Regions from separate parts of the Homo sapiens genome. Here region 2 is linked to region 1. Evidence: promoter capture Hi-C in 16 types of primary human blood cells and fetal thymus (Javierre and others, 2016). All regions are on one chromosome and are shown on one strand. The core of a region is centred on a gene start or on the middle of the fragment in contact, and the rest is flanking DNA. Distances in the headings are between cores, read along the strand shown. Region 1 holds the start of VRK1 (VRK serine/threonine kinase 1). Region 2 has its middle 6.7 kb from the start of SYNE3.

What was found. The method cuts DNA at HindIII sites, captures the fragments that hold promoters and counts their contacts. A CHiCAGO score of 5 or more calls a contact.
Region 2: a fragment that was not itself captured here is called in contact with the fragment with the promoter of VRK1 in region 1 in 1 of 17 cell types (erythroblasts); the score reaches 5.5 in erythroblasts.

Annotation. Positions count from the first base shown.
Region 1 is chr14:96,793,858-96,798,791 of GRCh38, forward strand. It overlaps VRK1 (VRK serine/threonine kinase 1), which reads left to right and starts at 3,525. Exons shown (of 13, transcript NM_003384.3): 1 at 3,525-3,590. RefSeq lists silencers at 3,407-3,606, 3,617-3,906 and an enhancer at 3,851-4,382. The HindIII fragment of the contact is 2,825 bases long and covers 2,532-4,934 here.
Region 2 is chr14:95,520,730-95,526,031 of GRCh38, forward strand. No RefSeq gene overlaps it. Among named protein-coding and RNA genes, the nearest start is that of SYNE3, 6.7 kb to the left of the region's middle. RefSeq lists an enhancer at 3,063-3,357 and a cis regulatory region at 3,380-3,782. The HindIII fragment of the contact is 788 bases long and covers 3,333-4,120 here.

The DNA.
Region 1 (4,934 bases), core at 2,275-4,774:
CTCCTCACACTTTCCCAAAGTGCCTGGATTATTTTTATTTTTCTATACCTTTGTGTTAGGGCTCCCAGAGATGAAAAAAAAAAAGGAACTCTGGGGTCTCACTATGCAGCAAATCAATACAGATCCCATGTATAAATTTTTAGTTGGTTTGCCTTTACTGGGAAGCTAGAAGATTTTTATTCACTAGGTCACCCTGCTTCATCTATGATGACCCCTTAACCAGGAATCTCAGTACTAGGCTATGATAGCATTCTGTACAAGTCTCCACCACTGTGCTAAAATTATTTCTTTGTAAGGACAGTCCTCATGTATTGAGGCTGGGCATAAAGGGGCAGTAAAAAGAACATTTGGAAGTAGATTCAGGGGACCAAGAATCATTGTCCAAATTCTTTGAGATTTTTTTCCCCTCTAAGAATTGGGGAAACAATATGTGTGAAAAATCACAGTGCCTGACAAATAGTAGGGCCTCCTTAAGCATTAAACCAGGGTCCCTGGAATTTGGCTCAATCCCTGGCTCACAGTAAGTGCTCTGTAAACATTTGTTTGGACCGTATAGATATTTTGAATATATGGCAGGATTACTTTTATGAACCTTTCCTGCCTAGTACAATTCTTAATTTCTTCTTCTTCTTCTTCTTCTTCTTCTTTTTTTTTTTTTGTTTGAGACGGAGTCTCACTCTGTCGCCAGGCTGGAGTGCAGTGGCGCGATCTCGGCTCACTGCAACCTCCGCCTGCCGGGTTCGAGCGACTCTCCCACCTCAGCCTCCTGAGTAGCTGGGATTACAGGTGCCTGCCACCACACCCAGCTAATTTTTTGTATCTTTAGTAGAGACAGGGTTTCACCATGTTGGCCAAGCTGGTCTCAAACTCCTAACCTCGTGATCCGCCAGCCTCGGCCTCCCAAAGTGCTGGGATTACAGGCGTGAGCCATCAATTCTTAATTTCTAAAGCCCACCAACAGCAAGTCCTCGCTGGTCAATCTTATGTATGACCCTGATCTTGACACCAAGCTATCAACTCATAAAAACGTGCCAAGGGTCTGCTAGCTTTGAGAGTTGTATCCCCATCTATAGCATTTCAGACATGTTGTCTCTGTGACAGCAGCTTGGACTGGTGACCTGCCATGCTCTGCACTGGGAAGACATCTCAGCATGTGTGGATGATGTTGTAGGTGCCGGCAACTGCCTTGGAACAGGGCTGCACGTAAGGAGTGTTTAACAGTGAGCCATCAGATCAAGGGTGCCAGGGCCAAGAGCTCCAGAATAAATACATTCCATTCTTACCTTACACTGTTGCTGATTTAATTGTGCTTTAAAGTCAGTCAATTGTCAACCCAGTGTGGAAACAGGGATGTTTCTTCACGTGTCTATTGTGAGGTTAGGGGAACATGGTCACACTATGACAGATAAGTCCTGTTCCAAGTTTTCTTAACATATGTGTGTATTTGTGTGGGTGTGGGTGTGGGTGTGTGTGTCTTTCTCTCAGTGGATTCTGGCCACAGAGTCTTGCTGGGGGATTCCACACCCATGAGATGTGTGAATCTTGAGACTTTTTTGCTGACAGATTTTATCGAGTGCTCACCTTGCCCATGCTCTGTTAGGGTCTCAACAGGAAGCAGATGACATAATTCCAAATAGGGTAATTTGAGGAAGGTTATTTGCAATGAGACTATTTACAACGGTGTTGGGGGTAGGAACCACGAGGGAGGATGCAGTAACTTGTGGGTCAGCAGCAGCCGTGATGTCATCACTTCCAGACCTGAGGCACAAAGGGAAGGGCTACTACCGCAAACTGGAGGGAGGGCCAGGGAGCAGTGACCTTCAGCTGAGGGACCTGCCAACTGGAGGTGACCTTGCCAGTCAGGATCCAGGGGCTTAACCTACTCTAACCAACCTTTCTTTTTCCTCCAATCTTCTGTGGGGTTCTCCACTGGGCACGCCCCAAAGCCAGGGGGCACAGGGAGCGCGAAGTAATTTGTAGAGGTCAGCCTCCTGGGGCAGAGGGCAGGCAGGAGAAGTATTTGGAGCAGATGAGGGTATCTGGAGGGGAAAATGTAAGACATCAGGCACAATATTGCCCTGTCTAATGGACAGAGTGATTCCAGGTTTTGTAGGGACTGAAGCTCACATAATTTTGGGGGATCTACTTTAAGAAAAATCAGCTGGGTGTGGTGGCTCATGCCTGTAATTCTAGCACTTTGGGAGGCTGAGGCGGGGTGGATTGTTTGAGCTCAGGAGTTCAAGACCAGCCTGGGCAACATGGTCAAACCCTGTCTCTACAAAAAATACAAAAATTAGCCAGAAGTGGTGGCCTGTGCGTGTAATCCCAGCTACTCGGAGGGTTGAGGTGGGAGGATTGCTTGAGCCCAGGAGGTCGTGGCTGCAGTGAACCGAGATCGCGCCAATGCATTGCAGCCTGGGTGACAAAGTGAGACTATATCTTTAAAAAAAAGAAAAAGAAAAGTAAAATCGACAAATAAACCCCCAAAGCTATGTAAACTCATTGAGGGACCTGCGCAAGTGAGGTCCTGAAGCTTACGCTTCATTGGCTTCATTGTTAATCTCCCTCTGCCTGTGACTTCAGTGATTTTGACCTAGAACAATGACCCAGTGCCCAATAAGCTCTCAGCCTCATGGGTGATGGAGACTTAGCTGATTATAATAAACACAATGCGGCCGGGCGCGGTGGCTCACGCCTGTAATCCCAGCACTTGGCGAGGCCAAGGCGGGCGGATCACAAGGTCAGGAGATCGAGACCATCCTGGCTAACACGGTGAAACCCCGTCTCTACTAAAAACAGAAAAAAATTAGCTGGGCGTGATGGCGAGCGCCTGTAGTCCCAGCTACTCGGGAGGCTGAGGCAGGAGAATGGCGTGAACCCGGGAGACGGAGCTTGCAGTGAGCCGAGACTGTGCCACTGTACTCCAGCCTGGGCGACAGAGTGAGACTCCGTCTCAAAAAAATAAATAAATAAAAATAAATAATAAACACAATGCAAACTGTGGCATACGTTGATTACAGATGAAACACTATAGATGATTAGGTAGACATTGAGATATGCTTTGAAATAGGCTTCGAAAAACAGGTAGGATTTAGACACATATCAATGAGTGGGCAGAATAATACTAACACTATCTGCTATTTATTGAGCACCAACTAAGTTTAAAGTACTGCCTATAGATTATTTCATTTAATCCTAACAGAAACAGGAAACTTATTTTACACCCAACTCTCTGCCAATACACTTAATAAATCAAGCTACTACGAACAAGGCTGTAAACCACATTTCCTAGAAGACCAGGGAGCAGAAGGACGGGGATCTCCCTTTGCCGCTAAGAGACTCCAACTCCCAGGATGCCTTGGGAGCGCTGGACCACAGCTCCCGGCATTCCCGGGGAGGCGCGGGGCTAGCGTAGCCTCCGCCCCGCGCCTCGCGTTACCACTCGTCCCGCCCCTCCTCGTCGCCTCCGAGCCAATGGGAAGGCTCCATACTGCAGGGTGCGAAGGGGCCGGCGCCGCTGCCGAGTTACGAGTCGGCGAAAGCGGCGGGAAGTTCGTACTGGGCAGAACGCGACGGGTCTGCGGCTTAGGGTAGGGAGGCCGCAGGCGACACGGCTCGAGGACTCGCGCGCCGAGCCGGGGGCGCGGAGGCGGGCGGCCGGGGCTGGGGCCGGCACTGGGCCTTCCGGGCGGCCTGTGGGTCCACCGGGGTGCGGGAGTCGCCGTCAGCCTCGGTCGCCCCGCGGGACCGCGCTCCGCCGCGTGGCTTCCGCCTGCGCGGGCGTCCGCTCCTTCCTTGTCTCGTTCAGGCCCCGCAGGCGCCCCCGGGGATGCCTGGACTGGCCAGGCCGGCCCCCATCTGAGCTCCACGTTCTGGACGCGCGTGGTGTCGCGGCCGAGCTCGCAAACGCCGCCTCGGGCCTCACCGGGAAGCCGGTTCTGTCAGGCGGGGCTCCGGGTGAACAGCGCAGGCGAGGCCCCTGCCCCGCAGAGCTCACTCTGTAGAAGGGAAACAACACACGCAGCTGCGATGTTTTGCGGATACGGAAATGCTTTCTTAGAAACGGGACAGGCAGTTGCGGGCTAGAGGAATGGGGGCGAGGCTCTTTAGGTTAGGTGATCCGGGAGGGCATCTCAGAGGATGTGACCTTTGACTTGAGACCTGAGAGGGGAGGCCGACCCCTGAGGATAGCAGCCAGGCCTGGGGACCGCGAGGCCGCCCGTTATTTCCCTGTCACATCGCGGGGAGGCCCCGTGATCCTGTACTTGAGGGTCTGTCTGGTGCAAGGCAGTTAGAGCCGCTTGTGTGTTTTGCAAGGGACTTTCATAACCGTTTGACAGTTCCTCCTCATTCTGTCCTTACCTGGCAGGGTGGCATCCTTTACTGTTGCAGCTCCATTCAGGGGCAACGCATAGTTTTTCCTACCACCGAAATAGTATTGTGGTTCTCGTCTCAAAACTCTTAGGTGGTAGAATTAAATTCGACAGACAGCAGCAGAGTCAGACACTATAGGTTCCTGTTGAGGCCACCCATTTTTCTGATGTCCTTTCTTTCAAGTCACTCATTTTTGTTTTCCTTTGTATAGACTCTTCCCTTCCCTTTCCTGTGTCCCTTTCTTGGAACAACTTGGAAATACAATTTGCTATTGGGAGGATGTTGGTTTTAGGGAACTGTTGAAGAACTTCATTAATTATTGTGTGTGTGTTTTTCTTTTCTTCTTCTTTTTTTTTAAACTGGAATTGCCCATCTGTTGAGACTGAAATTCAAGAGTAAAAAAAAGTAGGGCAGCATTTATTTTCAAGAGTTGACAATAAAGGCACCTTTCTTTATGACATGCTGAGCATGATACTTTGGGGGAGAATTTAATCTAGAATTTTGAAGCATTTTCAGAAGGAAGCAAGGGTTCTTTATATAGTCATTTTATGTAGGTTACG
Region 2 (5,302 bases), core at 2,477-4,976, 1.3 Mb before region 1:
GATTCTCGGATGATGGGGTTCTAACTCTTGTTAAGGCTGCTAACTAGCTGTGTAACCTTGGGTCACTTCTAAGTTTTTGAATCTGTGAAATGAGAGAATTAAAAAAGATTTTCTCTAAATTATTCCCCCAATTTAAGTAACTATAAGAAATATATATATACACACACACAGTATTATATACAATGTAATATATGTAATGTAATATACATAATACATTATGATATATTGTGTGTATGTGTGTATATATATATATATATATATATATATATATATACACACACACGCATACATATATATATTGTATTGGCTGGCCAGGTACAGTGGCTCACTCCTGTAATCCCAGCACTTTGGGAGGCCAGCGTGGGAGGGTCGCTTGAGCCCAGGAGTTCAAGACAAGTCTGGGCAACATGGTGAGACCCCGTCTCTACAGATAAATAAATAAAATTATCCAGGCAGGGTGGTGCATGCCTGGTTTCAGCTACTTGGAGCTGAGGCAGGAGGATTGCCTAGGCCTGGGAGGTCAAGGCTGCAGTGAGCCATGATTGCACCACTACATTCCAGCCTGGGTGACAGAGTGAGACCCTGTCTCTCTCTCTCTCCATTATATATCTTTTTGAAAAAAGAAGATCTTGTTTGTATTAAACAATCATCATTTAACATAACTAAACACCACTACTATTATACTCCAAGGAATAAATACTAAGATAAACAAAAGTGTTAAAGGAAAATTGATAAATTTTATTCCTAAAAAATAAAATCTGGCTGGGTGCGGTGGCTCATGCCTGTAATCCCAGCACTTTGGGAGGCCGAGGAGGGTTGATCACCTGAGGTCAGGAGTTCAAGACCAGACTGGCCAACATGGTGAAACCCCATCTCTACTAAAAATACAAAAAAAAATTAGTCGGGCATGGTGGTGGGTGCCTGTAATCCCAGCTACTCAGGAGGCTGAGGTAGACGAATTGCTTGCACCCAGGAGGCAGAGGTTGCAGTAAGCTGAGATCAGGCCACGGCACTCCAGCCTGGGTGACAAAGTGAGACTCCATCTCAAAAAAAAAAAAGAAAAGAAAAGAAAAAACAAAAACAGAAAACAAAGAAAATATACAAAATTCTTCTGGAAGAGGTCTGCCATGTTTCTCGTTTCTCCCAACAGTGGGAAGCCTGGTCTATTCTTTCTGCTTCTGTTGGGACTACTTTAAATGCATGTGGGTTTTTTGTTTAATTAAATGCTTTATTTTGAGACCACTGTAAATTCACATGCAGTTGTAAGAAATCATACAGAGAGGTCCCCTATATGCTTTACCCAGTTTCCACCGATGGCAGCATCTTACAAGACAATGGTACAGTATCACAGCTAGGAAACTGACAGACACCCACACGACACAAAACGCTTCCGTCACAAGGATCCCGCATGCTGCTCTTCCCCCTTTCCCCATTCCCTCCTTAAACTCTGGCAGCCACTCCTCTGTTCTCCTTTCTATAATTCTGTCATTTCAAGAATGTGATAATAATGGAATCACACGGTGGGACTGCCCTTCTCCACTCAGGGTAGTTCTCTGGAGCGTCACCCAGGCTGGCTCCCGTATCGAGTCTGTGCCTCCTCGTTGCTGAGCAGCAATCCACAGTGTGACGGATGCATCACGGGCTGGGTCACCCTTCCCTTGTTGAAGGACATCCGGGTTGTTCCTGGTTTTTGGCTATTATCAATAAAGCTGCTATAAACATTTTGTACGCACATGTGTGTCAATATACATCTTCACATCTTAAGTTTCAGCTGTTGGATCTAATACCCACTTACAATCCCATACCATCAGATTTCTCTTACTTTTTCCTAGTGATGAACGCAGCTAGTGATGAAGGATGTTTAAGTGTCCAACAGTTGCCCAGGATTGGGTCTTGAGTTGCAGAAATCTAACAAAAACCAGTTACATGGTTCTTGCCATCAAGAAATTTACAGTCTGTTGGGGAAGTGACATTAAGACACACGAATCATTCACAGAACTAAGTAATGCTGCATGTCATCAAATGCGAGACTGCATGGTACAAAACTGACTTGTAGAGGAACCCAGAGACAGGAAAGAGAAGTGACAACACGAGTGTTTGGGGAGTCCTCTGGATAAGATGTGAGATATATCTCAAATGATGGACACAAATAATGATATTTTATATTTATTAAGGGCTTACCTACCATCTGCCACACACTGTTCTAAGCCTTTACCTATATTGTTAATTTAACCCTCATCATCACCCTTCAGGATAGCTCCTATTATCATCCCATTTTCCAAATGAGGGAAAAAAGGTGAAAACTTGGCCATTCACCCAGCTATTATGTGACTCACCTAGGGTACACACTCAGGCAGTCTGACCCCAGCACCCACTCCATCGCTGTGGATTCTGTCTCATAGCAATAGTGGTCATGATTCAATTCCATTCTGTTTCTTAGGTTATATTTTCCACACACAGCATATGCTATAGCTATGCTGAGCCTTCTGGAGGAAGGTTATTGATAAGTTCAAACACTGTTCAAACAAACCAGCACCACTGTTAGTAACGTAACAGGTGAGAAGTCTGTGTGTGATGTATCTGCTGGGGTGTGTGTGTGTGTGTGTGTGTAAACAGCAAGGCTGAAGCCTCCAGTTGTGTGATTATCTGTATATGCAGCAAAACACGCACACACCACACACATCAAAGTTCCCAGCTCTATATGATAAAACACAGAAGCAGCTGAGCCCATTTCAGATAATGAATGTGGTTTTGTATTCTCTGAATTGCTACATACCAGGAAAGTCACTTCCAGGCTCAGCTACCTCCTGAGTTGCTAAACATACAAGATGTGTGATCACGCTTCGCTCACAGCACTGATGGCTGCTCACCCTTTCAGCTGTATCATTTCGGTTAAAACAACAGCATACCACGAGCCCGGCATGTTTGCTTGCTTTTGTTTTGAAATCTAAATGCAGCCTTGATAATGTCGGTGCTTCCATCGATGGGGTGGGTGGCAGAGTGAAAAGCTCCCTGGATCAACATCTCCTGACTTGCTGTCTCTCTGAGCTCTGCATTTCCCAGTCGGCTGGGCAGAGGCGAGCCATCTCACCTCCTCCTGTCTCCACATTTAGAAAATGGGGCCAGTTCTTCCTGTTTTCCCTGTAAGAGCTGCATGAGATTCACATAAAGATGATGAAACGCACTGCAAACTTTAGATTCTGTGCAAATGTGTACGACTATGGTAAATTAAACCCTCCGCTTACTATGCTTCCAAAGAATGCTTCACGACAGACACCAACTCAGGAAGAGGCTGTGAGTAAGGAAGACTTCCCCACTAGGGAGGAAAATGAAGCTTTCCGTGTTTTTTTTTTAATCCCTGGAGACATGTTTTTGAACGTTGCTGAAGTGTTCTCTCCTTGCTTTGACAAGTGTGGCTGTTCTGAACATGTGATCATATTGGAATCGCTGTGTGATAGGCAGAGTGCCCAGGAAGCCAGGGAGGCTCTGAACCCAGCCCTGGCAGACACACGGAGGTGTGGCCTTTGTACCCTCTTTAGGGCAGTGGAACCCATGCAGGGCACCTGCACCACCCCCACCCATCCCATATGAGCAGCCGGTGCTTGGCTCTTCCGGGAAGCCCACACTTGGGGCCCAGCCCTGTCCCTCTATCCTAGCGGCATGGGCTGGTAAATGCCAAATAGGTCCATGTATCTTATAAAACCTGCTGCTCTTGATGATAATTCTTGACAGCCCAGGACACTTCCCTAACAGAGAAAGTTGTTTCATTGCAGTAGTCTAGTTCCAAAACCTTAGAATCTTATTGCCAACAACTGGCATGGAACACATGCAGAACAAACATTTTCCAACAGGACTGCCGCAGGTCCTTGCAATGGCAATAGCTGCAGCACCTGGCCTAAGATTTTAAAGAACTTTCATCCTAAATTTCTTCTTTGATGTTGTAGACTTGGTATGCAGAGAAAAATGGCCAGTGTCGCTAAATGCACCTCCTGGTTAATTACAAAGCCCTATTCAGCAGACAGAAGCAACCTCTATAAACAGGCAAGAGGTGTCCTCAGGTATTTCAAAGGTCTCGGCTAGCACCATGCCAATGGGATGAGTGCACCAGCTTCAGCAATCAAGCTTGTTTCATCATCCAAATGGAAACATTTCTGCAAAATGACTGGACTCTATCTGCTCTGTTCACTAACTACAGAAATGGCCTAAAACAAAGGTTCACACACAGACAAAAGTAACAGCCAGAAGACACCTGACAAATTCACTGGCCCAACTCTATCACGTTGCAGAGCCCCTTAGAGGTGAAGCGAAGCGCCCAAGGGCAGCAAACACTGATTGCATCAGCCCACACTGTGTTTACCTCCATTGCAAAATCCACGAGACCCTGGGTCCTTACCTGGCCTCTCTCTGTGGCTTCCTTTTTTTTTTTAAGAGACAGCCTTGCTCTGTTGCCCAGGCTGGAGTGCAGTGGTACTATCATAGTTCACTGCAGGCTAGAACTCCTTGGCTAAAGTTATCTTTCCACCTCAGCCTCCCAAGTAGCTAGGACTATAGGCACACACCACTGCTCCCAACTAACTTAAAACTTTTTCTAGAGATGGGGCCTCACTATGTTGCCCAGACTAGTCTAGAGCATGTGGCCTCAAGCAATCCTCCTGCCTCGGCCTCCCAAAGCTCTGGGACTACAGGTGTGAGCCCTCATGCTCAGGCCCTCTGTGGCTTCTGGTAAATTCCTCTTCCCTAAAGCACTTGCTCCTAGTTCTCCTCATGGCCTGTCCCTCCCCAGCGATATGCGTTCCCCAGGTTTTCTTCTCTGCACTCCTTCTTGCCCCCCCACCCGCCCAAATCTCCTTTATCAATAGATCCAGACCCGTAGAGGCAATAATCTGCATACTCTCTCCCTTTATTTCAGACATAACCTGATGATTTAGATGTTCCTCAGGCACCTGGAAACAGAAATGTCCAAAAGTAATTCCTGAACTTACCTTTCCAATCCTCCTTCCCCCTCCCGCTGTATTCCCTGCATCATCAAGTGCAGTCAGTGGCTAAGCAAAACCCTAGGAATAAGCCTGAATCTTCCCCTCTTCCTCCCAGCCCCCTCCCCACAGTCAGCCAGTCACCAAATGCTGTCATCCCTACCTTCAAAGAACTCAGCTTGCAGCAGTGCCCTTCCCCCATGCCCCCACCCCAATACCTGCAAAGGTTAAATCTGATGACCCTCTCCTAAGTGGCCCCGTTAGCTCGGCCACCTCCAATCCATCAACACTCCCGCAAGGGTGATCTCTCAAGCACTCTGCAGCTTACA